3 separate regions of the Homo sapiens genome follow, and all the other regions are linked to region 3. Evidence: promoter capture Hi-C in 16 types of primary human blood cells and fetal thymus (Javierre and others, 2016). All regions are on one chromosome and are shown on one strand. Each heading gives the region's core, a stretch centred on a gene start or on the middle of the fragment in contact. The rest is flanking DNA. Distances are from core to core; before and after follow the strand shown.

What was found. Contacts are between HindIII fragments. The CHiCAGO score rates a contact against its expected background, and 5 or more counts as called.
Region 1: a contact is called between the fragment with the promoter of TIMELESS here and the fragment with the promoter of R3HDM2 in region 3, in 5 of 17 cell types (monocytes, fetal thymus, non-activated CD4 T cells and 2 more). The highest score is 12.1, in monocytes.
Region 2: the fragment with the promoter of RBMS2 here is called in contact with the fragment with the promoter of R3HDM2 in region 3 in 8 of 17 cell types (total B cells, naive CD8 T cells, activated CD4 T cells and 5 more); the score reaches 12.1 in total B cells.

Annotation. Positions count from the first base shown.
Region 1 is chr12:56,447,391-56,451,217 of GRCh38, forward strand. TIMELESS (timeless circadian regulator) reads right to left here and starts at 2,036. Exons shown (of 29, transcript NM_003920.5): 1 at 1,920-2,036. MIP (major intrinsic protein of lens fiber) reads right to left here. Exons shown (of 4, transcript NM_012064.4): 4 at 2,112-3,827. RefSeq lists enhancers at 917-1,437, 1,460-1,579, 1,690-1,779. The HindIII fragment of the contact is 959 bases long and covers 1,419-2,377 here.
Region 2 is chr12:56,519,577-56,523,099 of GRCh38, forward strand. It overlaps RBMS2 (RNA binding motif single stranded interacting protein 2), which reads left to right and starts at 2,244. Exons shown (of 14, transcript NM_002898.4): 1 at 2,244-2,513. The coding sequence starts at 2,448. RefSeq lists an enhancer at 2,679-3,422. The HindIII fragment of the contact is 765 bases long and covers 1,991-2,755 here.
Region 3 is chr12:57,428,752-57,432,664 of GRCh38, forward strand. R3HDM2 (R3H domain containing 2) reads right to left here and starts at 2,292. Exons shown (of 24, transcript NM_001394031.1): 1 at 1,969-2,292. It overlaps R3HDM2-DT (R3HDM2 divergent transcript), which reads left to right and starts at 2,365. Exons shown (of 2, transcript NR_185976.1): 1 at 2,365-2,679. RefSeq lists an enhancer at 1,434-1,543 and a silencer at 1,724-2,193. The HindIII fragment of the contact is 10,065 bases long and covers 1-3,913 here.

The sequences.
Region 1 (3,827 bases), core at 786-3,285, 980 kb before region 3:
AATGTAAGTGCTCAATAAATGCTTTACTAAATTGAACTGAAACAGAGAAGTCTGGAAGATGAGGGAGAAGAGTTTGGAGCTAAAGATTTGGAGGCATCAGGATGTAAGATGGTGTGAGTGCAGTGAGAGGAGGAAGGAAGCCAGGAAGGACTTCTTGATGACCCTTTCACTGTAACCACAGAAGACTCAATTACATGTGTTTTCCTTAGGACTTGAGTTCCTTAAGGGTCGGGAACTCTCCATCCTACTCATCTCTGTAAGCCTGGCGCTAAGCACAGTGCATGGTACATGTTAGGAGCTCAGTAACCTTTTATTGATCTTTTATTGAGCTGTATCAGTGCCCCTGGTAATAGAGGGGGGTAAAAAACTTCAGGGACACACAGGAAGAAGTGACTAACTTGGCATAGGAAGCTGGATACATTGATTTTCAGAGGGACAATTAAGCTCAGTCTTCAAAGAGAAGTTCGCTTGGCAGAGCAGTGTCAAGATCTTCCAAGCAGAAGGAACAGCAGGAACTAAGTACTGAGATATGAAAGAGGGCAGCCACAATCTTTCCACGTGGCCAGGAGTCAGGTGCGTAAGAGATTTACAAAATGAGATTGAGAGGGTCAGGGCCAGACTGAGAGGCCACAGACACCCACCTACGGATTTAAGGCTAACTGTGGGTGGTCAAAGAGGAGTTTTAAATTTAACATCAGATGATCTACCTTTACTTTGTACAAAGTACTAGTAGGGCCGGGTGTGGTGGCTCACACCCGTAATCCCAGCACTGTGGGAGGCCGACGCGGGCGGATCATTTGAGGTCAGGAGTTCGAGACCGGCCTGGCCAACATGGTGAAACCCCATCTCTACTAAAAATACAAAAATTAGCCGGGCGTGGTGGCGGGCAGCTGTAATCCCAGCTCCTGGGGAGGCTGAGGCAGGAGAATCGCTTGAACTGGGGAGGCGGAGGTTGCAGTGAGCCGAGATCGGACCACTGCACTCCAGCCTGGGCGACAGAGCCAGACTCCATCTCAAAAACAAAACAAAACAAAACAACCAAAAAAAACAAACAGGCCAGGCGCGGTGGCTCACGCCTATAATCCCAGCACTTTGGGAGGCCGAGGCGGGCGGATCACGAAGTCAGGAGTTTGAGATCATCCTGACCAATAAGGTGAAACCCCCATCTCTACTAAAAAAAATACAAAAATTAGCCGGGCATGGTGGCGCGCGCCTGTAATCCCAGCTACTCAGGAAGCTGAGGCAAGAGAATCGCTTGAACCCGGGAGGCGGAGGTTGCAGTGAGCCGAGATGGCGCCACTGCACTCCATCCTGGGCGACAGAACGAGACTCCGTCTCAAAATAAAATAAAATAAATAAAAAATTGAAAGTACTAGTCGAAGCACGAATGGCAAAGAATTGAGAGGCTCAAGGAAAAAAGCTTCATTAGCGGCTGAGGTCCAGGTGACAAACCCGAACAAGGCAACGAAGGGAGGGAGTGAGAAATCCGTTCCATAAAACCCACGATATAAGTAAAGCGGCCTGTGAATTCCGACCACTGCTGACCGCCAGGCCACACACCGGTTTTTTTCAGGAGGTCTCAACTAGATGCTAAGCTCCGAAGTGGAACTCCCTCAGGCACTTTCTGTTCTAATTCAGGAATTCCAAGCCCCTTTCCATCACAACCCCATCCCGCGGGAGACCCAAGCTGTGCGGAGCAGCGTAGGGCTAAGCCCGCGTCCGGTGAGACCCGGGAACGCGGCGCGGGAGACTAAGGAGCAGAGTACAGAATTGCGCGTGCGCGCCTGCAGCACGAGCCCCGCCCCCTGGCTCTAAACCGGGTGGCGGGAAAAGGGACTCAGCGTTTCCCGAGAATGCCCCCATAGCTTCGAAAGGATCCCCGTGTCCGCTTAGCGCCCTCTCGCCACACACTCACTCACCCGCTCCCTGCGGGTCCTCAGAAGCCCGGAGGAGCCACCGGCCCTCTGGCGCGGGGCCGCAGCCTTTCCGCCACCAGGCTCAGCTGGACCGGTCCCCGCCTGCGCGAAGAGCGAGGCGGGGCGAGCCGGGCTGGTCCACGTGACTCCGAGCGAACTGGGGCGGAGATTGGTGAAGAAGGAAGGAAAAGGGAAGCGAGTGCAGGGACTGTTTTATGTGAGGTCGATCTAAAAATCACAGCGCTATGAATTTTCTGCTGAATTATAGTAGAATCAAAGTCCGATTAGAGGTGAATTTACAAACATTCTTCCCCTTCTTCTAGTCAAGCGGACTATTCCAAGTCTTAAATAGTTAGTTAGAAAAGTTAGGTTTTATTTGGGAGGAAGTAAAGAGCTGAAGTACAGGGAGGAATGGTCTTCTGGGATAGGGGATGTCCGTTGTATTATAGGTATAAATTTAAAGCTTTCAAAGTATGCAAGAGGCTCATAAAAGGAAGAAAGCAACCGTAAATATTCATTGAACAGTTGAGGGTCTCTTCTGGCCTCTGCTGAGATGATCTTGCCAAAAGGAAAAGAAAATAGGGCTGTGCTCTGGCCCCCTGTAATCCCAGCTACTGGGGAGGCTGAAGCAGGAAGATCGCTTGAGCCCAGGATTTCTAGACTGTAGTGTGCGATGATCGTGCCTGTGAATATCCATTGCACTCCAACCTGGTCAACATAGTAAGACCCCCTCTCAAAAAAAAAAAGAAGATAGGGCTCAAACAAATAATAATCTCCTGAATTATTAAGCATTTGAATAGAAGGAATCAATTTCTGGGGTATGAGGGAGTTAGAAGAGATTTGCTTCAAGATGAAAGGACGGATGACAGAGAAATGAAAATACACAGACACAAAACAAGAAAAAAAACACGGAACTAGTGATAAAAGCAGAAAGATGCCATTTGAGGAGTGTTTTGATTTGCTCTAAATAAATTAGAACAGAGTCAAAGCCTCTCCCCTCATGCCCCCTACTACCACCCGTTCATTTATTTGCTCCAGGAATCAGATTTCCTGTGTTGGCCTTAGGGAACAATTGTGGGGCTTAAATACCATCTGCCAGGCAGCCACAACAGTGGATGTCAGGCTGACCAGTTAAGCTGCTTAATTTTTCTAGATTCTAGGCTTGCCCAAGCTCTATTTAGGTTGGAAGCTCTTTGGCCCAGGACCTCTGAAGAGATCCATTATGTCAGAATGAACACAACCAGCCAGCGGATGTAGACAGGTTTACGTGGCTTTACAGAACAGCTAAATCCTAGTGTTCACTTTTCTCAGAGCTACTTCCCCACCCAAGTCCCTGGGGCAAGCATCCCTAAGATAAGTAGGCTATATATTCCCATTAACTTCCCCCCAATTCTTCGGTACACCTACATCCTGATCTGGGGCTAATACTCCGTTTTCACCACCCACCTCCCTTGAGTCCCTTCTCCTAACCCTTGGAAGCCTTGTCTCCTCCACTTCTCTCCATCTGCCTCGTGTGAGGAGTAACTCCCTGCTTCTCTGTTCCCTCAGAAATCAAGAGCCACACACTTGACTGGCAGCAGGGTAAAGGCCAGAAACTTAAGGTGTCGGTTACCCAGTACTCACCATACTGGGTCGAGGAAGGGAGGTATAGGATGGCACCTCTTTTTGCTTCCTTAGCTCTCATGCCCCAAAACTCAGACACAGCCACACTCACATTCATATGCACAATCAGCACACACGGCGAAGGGTGGTGGGATGGGGAGGAAGGGAAGTTTGCACCAACCAGCTCATGAATGCAACTTGAAAGATTTCACACAGCAAAAGGAAAAAAAAAAAAAAAACAACCACATACATAAGTTAAAAAATAAAGAAGTACATGACCCTCCCCACAGTCTCTTTCTTCATCTAGGG
Region 2 (3,523 bases), core at 994-3,493, 910 kb before region 3:
AGATTGCACCACTGCACTCCAGCCTGGCGACAGAGTGAGACTCTGTCTCAGGGGGAAAAAAAAAAAGTAGAAAGAAAAATTAGACTTAAAAAAAAAGTTAAATTGGGTTGATTGCCTTTATGAATCAGGCCTTCAAGAGAAAGGTTTCTGTACCACATTGTTAGGGTAAAGGAGAAGATATCATCCAAGGGCCTAAACAGCAAGGATAAATTGGTTAATGAGAGTCTCTGAGAGCAGAAAAAGGACTTAAAAAAATATATATATATATATATATGGGCCGGGCGCGGTGGCTCACTCCTGTAATCCCAGCACTTTGGGAGGCCAAGGCGGGCAGATCACCTGAGGTCGGGAGTTTGAGACCAGTCTGGCCAACAAGACTACTAAAAATACAAAAAAATTAGCCGGGCATGGTGGCGCATGCCTATAGTCTCAGCTACTCGGGAGGCTGAGGCAGGAGAATCGCTTGAACCCGGGACGCAGAGGTTGCGGTGAGCCAAGATAGCACCACTGCACTCTAGCCTGGGCAACAGAGCAAGACTCTGTCTCAGAAAAAAAAAAAGATATCACTGAGTGATGCCTTCATTTATTTATTTACTGCATTTGGCTGCTGTGTTTCCAGTCTCAGTTGCAATTCCCACACTGAGGCTCTCCCACCCTTCCTGTGTCCCCTGAGCTGAGCAGGCACTTCCTGTCCTATTGGAAATGAAAGTTAGAGATTGGGGGTAGGGTATGTATATTTACTCTGCAGAATACTAATACTGTCTGTTCCATTATCATAGCAAAAAAGTGACACGGAAACTAGAATAGAGACCAGAACTTCATTTGAGGGAGGGTTTGGGCTTAATATTTGTTGTCACAAAACAGACAGGGTTAATTTATATCTCAAGAAACTACTTAGGATGGCAGCAAGGTGGCCTTATGAAGGGATTTGAAGGCTTTCATTTAACATCCCTATTGCACTTGGATTGGTAGGGGTTACTGGATATCATTCTTAAGTTTTTGGTTTCCTTTCTTGTTAAGGTTACGCCTACAAAGACATTCTTTGGAAACTAGTAGAGGTAAGTGTTGCAACTCTATTAGGTTCTTGACTCTGAAATTTGTATTCCTTCCTAAGAATTTTGTGTTTTTATTCTGTTGAAGCATATGCTTCTTAAGTATTTTTTTTTTTTAAACAGCTCAAAGACAACTCAAAGCAGACATCCCAACTGTAGACTTCAATTTAGACATAAACTCCAGGTTTGGTGAGTTACTGTAATTGTTTCAGTTTCATGGATCTTAAAGATGAGGAAATAGCAGGGTAAAGTGTTAAATAAGATAGCCTGCAATTGTTAGAGAAATAACAAGGCACCAAGTTTCATGATATAGTCCAGTCTGATAATTCCTTCTTAAGTATGAACTCATTCCTCGGAGAATCTGAAATAGGAGTGAGGGGCATCAGCCCATTGGTATGACCCAAGAGAAACACATCTAAGGATCTGAAACTAGTTATACCCCATACTCTGTTTTGCTTAGCTCTGCTCTTTGGTGTGTTCCTCTGTTTGTTCCTTTGTACATTAAGATCACTATAAATGGGCCAGGGGTGGTGGCTCATGCCTGTAATCCCAGCACTTTGGGAGGTTGAGTGGGTGGATCACTTGAGGTCAGGAGTTCGAGACCAGCCTGGCCAAGATGGCGAAACCCCGTCCCTACTAAAAAATACAAAAATCAGCTGGGTGTGGTGGTGGTCACCTGTAATCCCAGCTACTCGAGAGGCTGAGGCAGGAGAATTGCGGAAGGTGGAGGTTGCAGTGAGCCGGATCCGGGATTGCACCACTGCACTTCAGCCTGGGTGACAGACTAAAACTCTGTCTCAAAAAAAAAAAAAAAAAATCACTGTAAGTGTAAAGTAGGGGAAGCCCTGAGCTTATCTCACACACTCTAACTCTGTTTTTTTTTTTTTTTTTTTTTGCGTGTTCTCCAAGGCAATGTCTCAGGAGCCCCTTTAAAATCAAGCTTGAAATCTTATAGCTGAGATCTAAGGGTGGAAATAAAGCCCTCATTGTCTTTATATGAGAATCGGAACTTGTTCATAGAGGAAAGGGGATAAATTTGAAAGGGGTTAGACCTAAGAACTCTTCTTTCTAGCTTTAACTCCTGAGACTATGAAAAACAAACAAAAAAAAACATCTTGGGCATTAGGACCCAGTGGAAGTGCCTCTGCCTCATTCAGACTCTGTTAACTTCTCTCAGTGACGTAAAGGAGCAGCCCGAGCTCATTCTCTGCCCGCAGCCCCCCTTCATCTCTCTCCTCCTGCTCCTTTTCTCCTCCTTTCTCCTCCCCCTCCCTTTTTTCCTCCCTCCCTCTCCCCCTTTCCCTCGCTCCCCTCCTCCCTCCCTCCCCGTCTTTCTTACCCCCTCCCTTTCTCTCTCTCTCTCTCTCTCGCTCGTTCCCTAACATTAAAGAGAAAATGCTGCTATCCGTGACTTCCAGGCCCGGGATTTCGACTTTTGGCTACAATAGAAACAACAAGAAGGTAGGGAAAAGCGCTTTTTTGGTATCTAGCTACTTCTTTTTCTGGGGATCTTGCAATGCCCTTGGTTTTTACATTCTTTTTAAAGAGGGGAAGGGGCTTCCTCTCTCAAGATTCCTAATTCCTCACCGCGCTTCTCCCTTTTCCACTACTGCTTTCTGCATCTTTCCTCAACTGGTTCTGGAGTTCAGGGAACTTTCAGTCTCTGCGAGGCCTGAAAAGACAGGGGAATTAAAAACAAATCAAGCTTGCAAGTTTGTATCCTTATGAAATGAAGTTAGTTTGACTTCCTGCTGATGTATCAATCTCCACAAGGATAATATGTCATTTCAGACCCTGTCCCCCAGTCCACCCCACCCCACAAGATTATTTTATTTTTTGATTAACTGTTTCCATTCTCTCCCCAACCTTCCCTCCTACCCATACCACCAGTAGTATTAGATAGCTGAAATCATAGATAGTCAGAGAAACCACAACAGTTTATCAAGAGCTGGGTATACTCTTCTAGACTACAGATCCTACCCCACCCAGCCTATAGAGAAGGAGTCTTGAGAGACATCGCACCTTGGGATTAAGGCACAGAGCGCTGTGATACTTTGGATCTTGTATTTGAACTGATACTTGGACCTCTGCAGATAGCCAGACTTTGCAGTGATCCTAGGAGTCTTTATGATTAACCCATGGCTGCCAGAGAATTGTGCTGTCCTTGGGCACATGGGGAGAGATGGACAATCTTGTCCATATTTGACAAGGAATATATTTGGCAGTTTCTGGCATTTCAGGGCGCACAGCATACTGATTAGGAGGAATTTCATGCTGTAGCAGGAAGAAGACTCTTTACCCTCTCTTTGTGTTGTAGCTGTTCTTTGAAGAAAAAATGTGACATAGACATTTAGGGAATCTTTTGCTCATCTAATGGAATGTTGGAGGGTGAGGAACGATTCCTGCTGCTTTCTCATGTACCTAATGAGACCATTAGAGGTGGATTTAAACACAAGTGTCTGATCAATGCA
Region 3 (3,913 bases), core at 1,042-3,541:
TTTTTTTTTTTTTGAGACAGTCTCTCGCTCTGTTGCCTAGGCTGGAGTACAGTGGCACGATCTTGGCTTACTGCAAAATCCGCCTCCTGGGTTCAAATGATTCTCCCACCTCAGCCTGCCAAGAAGCTGAGATTACAGGTGCCTGCCACCACGCCTGGCTACTTTTTGTATTTTTAGTAGAGACGGGGTTCCACCATGTTGGCCAGGCTGGTCTCAAACTCCTGACCTCAGGTGATCCACCTGCCTTCGCCTCCCAAAGTGCTGCGATTACAGCATGAGCCACCGTGCCCGGCCAGTCAGGCATGCTATTTTTATTTGTCAAATTTTTTTAAAACTTTACATTGTGAAGCTCTGCCAAGAGCAATGGCTCACGCCTGTAATCCCAGTGCTTTTGGGAGTCTGAGGCCAGAGGATCACTTGAGGCCAGGAGTTCAAAACCAGCCTGGGCAACATAGCAAGATCCCATCCCTACGAAAAAAAAATTGTGAAGCTCTACTAATCATATAATGGACACAAAGACAAATGGAACTTCAACTCTGAAATTTAACTTGTTAGGAGTTCATCAGGCCTTCAAGAAAAAAGTTATCTTTTCTCTCAACTCTCTGGAGAACAGCAACAGGGTAAGAAAAATACAACTAAAAACTGAACTGAATTAATCTAACCGGCCACTTTTCACCACTATTTAAACTTTTTGTCTTTCCCGGCGCGGTGGCTCAAGCCTACCACTTTGGGAGGCCAAGGCAGGTGGATCACTTGAGCCCAGGAGTTCCAGACCAGCCTGGGCAGCAAGGTGAAACCCGTCTCTACAAAAATCAGCCAGGAGTGGTGGCTCATGCCTGTACTCCCAGCTACTTGGGGGACTGAGGTAGGAGGACGGCTTGAGGCCAGGAGGCAGAGGTTGCATTGAGCCGAAAAGGAACCACTACACTCCATTCTGGGTGACAGACTGAGACCCTGTCTCAAAAAACAAAATACAACCTTTTGTCTTGATACCCCAGCAACAAAAAGGGGGGCGGGGGTGGGGGGGGAATATTGGTGGAACAACAACAAAAAAAAGCATTAGGAAGAAGAGCCACAAATAATTCAACTGCAAATCTATCTAAAAATACAAGAAAATGCTAGGAATTTGTGATATTCCTGAAGTGAAACCTGTCACTTTCCTCCTTCCTTGAGTCTCCACGTGGCTTACGCATATCAGACAGGACTCAGGCTTCTCAATCTTAGTTATCTATTTGAACAACATTATGTACAAGGATATTCATCCAACTGGGATCTGAATTCAAACTTTTCCACTTTTCTTTCTTCCGTTTTAACGCAGTTCTGGGATTGTTATTCGGTCATTTCTCATCATTATCCAATGACAATTCACTCTAAGTCAGTATTCCTGGTAGTTCCGAGACTTAATGGCCACAAATGTTGAAAAATGTTAGCTCTACGGGAAAACGAATCGAAGCGTTTTCAGGGGCTCGAGTAGTTATGAGCTTAGTGTAGGCCCAAGTTTTAAGCTATAGAAACATCTCCCTGTATGTGCCAACTCAAATCCCCGTCCCTGTAAGAAACCTGGACACCAGCATGATTTTAAACACTTCTACACCTCTCCGTCCTATTTTTCCATGCTCCACGCTCGAAGGAAAACCGCCACCCAAGAAACACACGGAGCTAGCCACCCCGAAGCACTGGAAGGGCGCAATAGTTTTTAGGTCACCCCGCAAAGGCCACAGGTGGCGCCACCCCCCTGCCCCCGCACCGCCGCCCTCCGCCCCGCGCCCCCAGCTTCTCTCCAGCAGCGCACACTTGGAGCAGTCCTTCCCGCGGCCATCCGACCCTGACCCATCGTCCCCGGGACCGGCTGCCGGGCGCGAGGAACCCAGGCCGCGGGGCCTCCTCGCGCCCGCCCGTGCGGCCGCCACGCCCCCTCCCCACAGGCCGTCCGGGCCGCCCGCCCCCTCGGCCGGGAGGTGGCCTCACCTCGCACGGGCCTTGGCGGGGAGGGCGCCCACGTCTCCGCCCGCCGCCCGGGCCCACGGCCGCTCGGCTGCGGCTCGGCCCCGACGGCCGGCGGCGGCGCGCTTCTGGGGGCGGGCTTTTCTCGGCCGGGGCTTCCCCGGGGCCGAGGGCTGGGAAGCAGGGGGGACTGGGACGGGGGAGGGGAAAGGGGCTTGGGAAGGAGGGGGGAGAGGGGAAGAAAAGGGGGGAACCAAACCCGGAAAGGGAGAAAAGGGGGGAGGGGAAAATCAGAAGGGGAAGAAAAGCCCAGAGTCCGCCCCCCGCTGCGGCTGCGCGCTACGTCACTACGTCCGGCGTTGTCGTCACCTCGTCCTGCGTTCCGGCCGTCCCTGCTTCCTGGCTTCCCGCGTGCCCCTCAGCAGCCCTGCGGGGCCTACCGCCTGCCGCACGCACTCCCGCCGGCGCGCGCGCACTCGCACTCGCTCGCTCGCCCTCTCCTCCTTCCGCGTTACCTGTGTCAGGACACCAATCCGGAGTCACTGGGAGCCTCGGTCCTCCTTAAACCCTTCAAGTCTGTCAGATAGAATACCCTGGATTTCAATATAATACTAATAGTGATCATTCTAAAGTAATTTCCATTTACAGAGCACTTTCACTTAGGGCAGTAACTCCTGTACCAAAAGAACGTACACTCGGTATTTGTTGCATACGTGGATAACTATAGTTGAGCAGGTAAATGTCCATTTTACGTAAAGATGAAAAAAACCGACCTAGGAGGAACTCAGTCTGTCCTATTAAGATCACATTCTTACCATCATCCCCTCTCTAAGATACAGTTCTCAAAAATCGTCTTAAATGTCCAGCCTCCCCCGTTTTGTCCATTCTAGGCAGAATCAATTTAGTTATTGATTATGTGTGTGTGGATAATTTACTGACCAAACTCCCTCAAAGAAGCAATGTAGTCTTTTGTAGAATTCGACCATTAAATATTTACCTTGTGACAGAAACTGCGGTAGGCAAAAAAAGTCAAATAATTATAGTACAATTTAAGTGCTATAATAGAAAGGTTTAAATGTGCTATGGAAACACAAGGAACAGCAATTCGTTCTTAGCGGTAAAAGAGATTGAGTAAGTTACAGAGAAACTACAGGTGAAACTCCAGCTAATCTTGAGACTATAAATAGTTCACTAGAGAGGTAAGAATGGAGATTCCAGCAAAGTCATAGAGGCATGAAGTTCATCTTTCCTTCAAGGATGAGCAAGTTCCAGGTTGGTTGGCGTTTTTTGTTTGTTTGTTTGTTTGTTTTATTTATTTTGAGATGGGGTCTCGCTTTGTCACCCAGGCAACTAGATTGCAGTGGTGCAATGTCGGTTCACTACAACCTTCACCTCTCAGGTTCAAGTGATTCTCCTGCCTCAGCGTCCGGAGTAGCTGGGACTACAGGCACGCACCATCACACCCGGCTATTTTTTGTATTTTTAGTAGAGACGGGGTTTTGCCATGTTGGCCAGGCTAATCTCGAACTCCTGGCCTCAGGTGATCCACCCGCCTCGGCCTTCCAAAGTTCTGGGATTACAGGTGTGAGCCACCTTGCCCAGCCCTCTCTCCTGGTCATCACTGCCTCCTGCCCCCAAATTCTCTCAACCCTCTAGAGAACAACAACGGGGGAAGAAAAATACAACTGAACTGAACTGATCTAACCTGCCACTTTTCACCACGATTTAAACTTTTTGTCTTGGCCGGGCGCAGTGGCTCACACCTAGCACTTTGGGAGGCCAAGGCAGGTGGATCATTTGAGCTCAGGAGTTCCAGACCAGGCAGTGATGACCAGTAGGAAATAATAGCTAATATTTGTATTATGTGTATGTAAGTACAATATAAAATGTGTAGCATTCTACATCTATTGTTAGTATCAAATCCTCAATACAATAGGTACTATTATTATACCTGTTTTATAGATGAGGA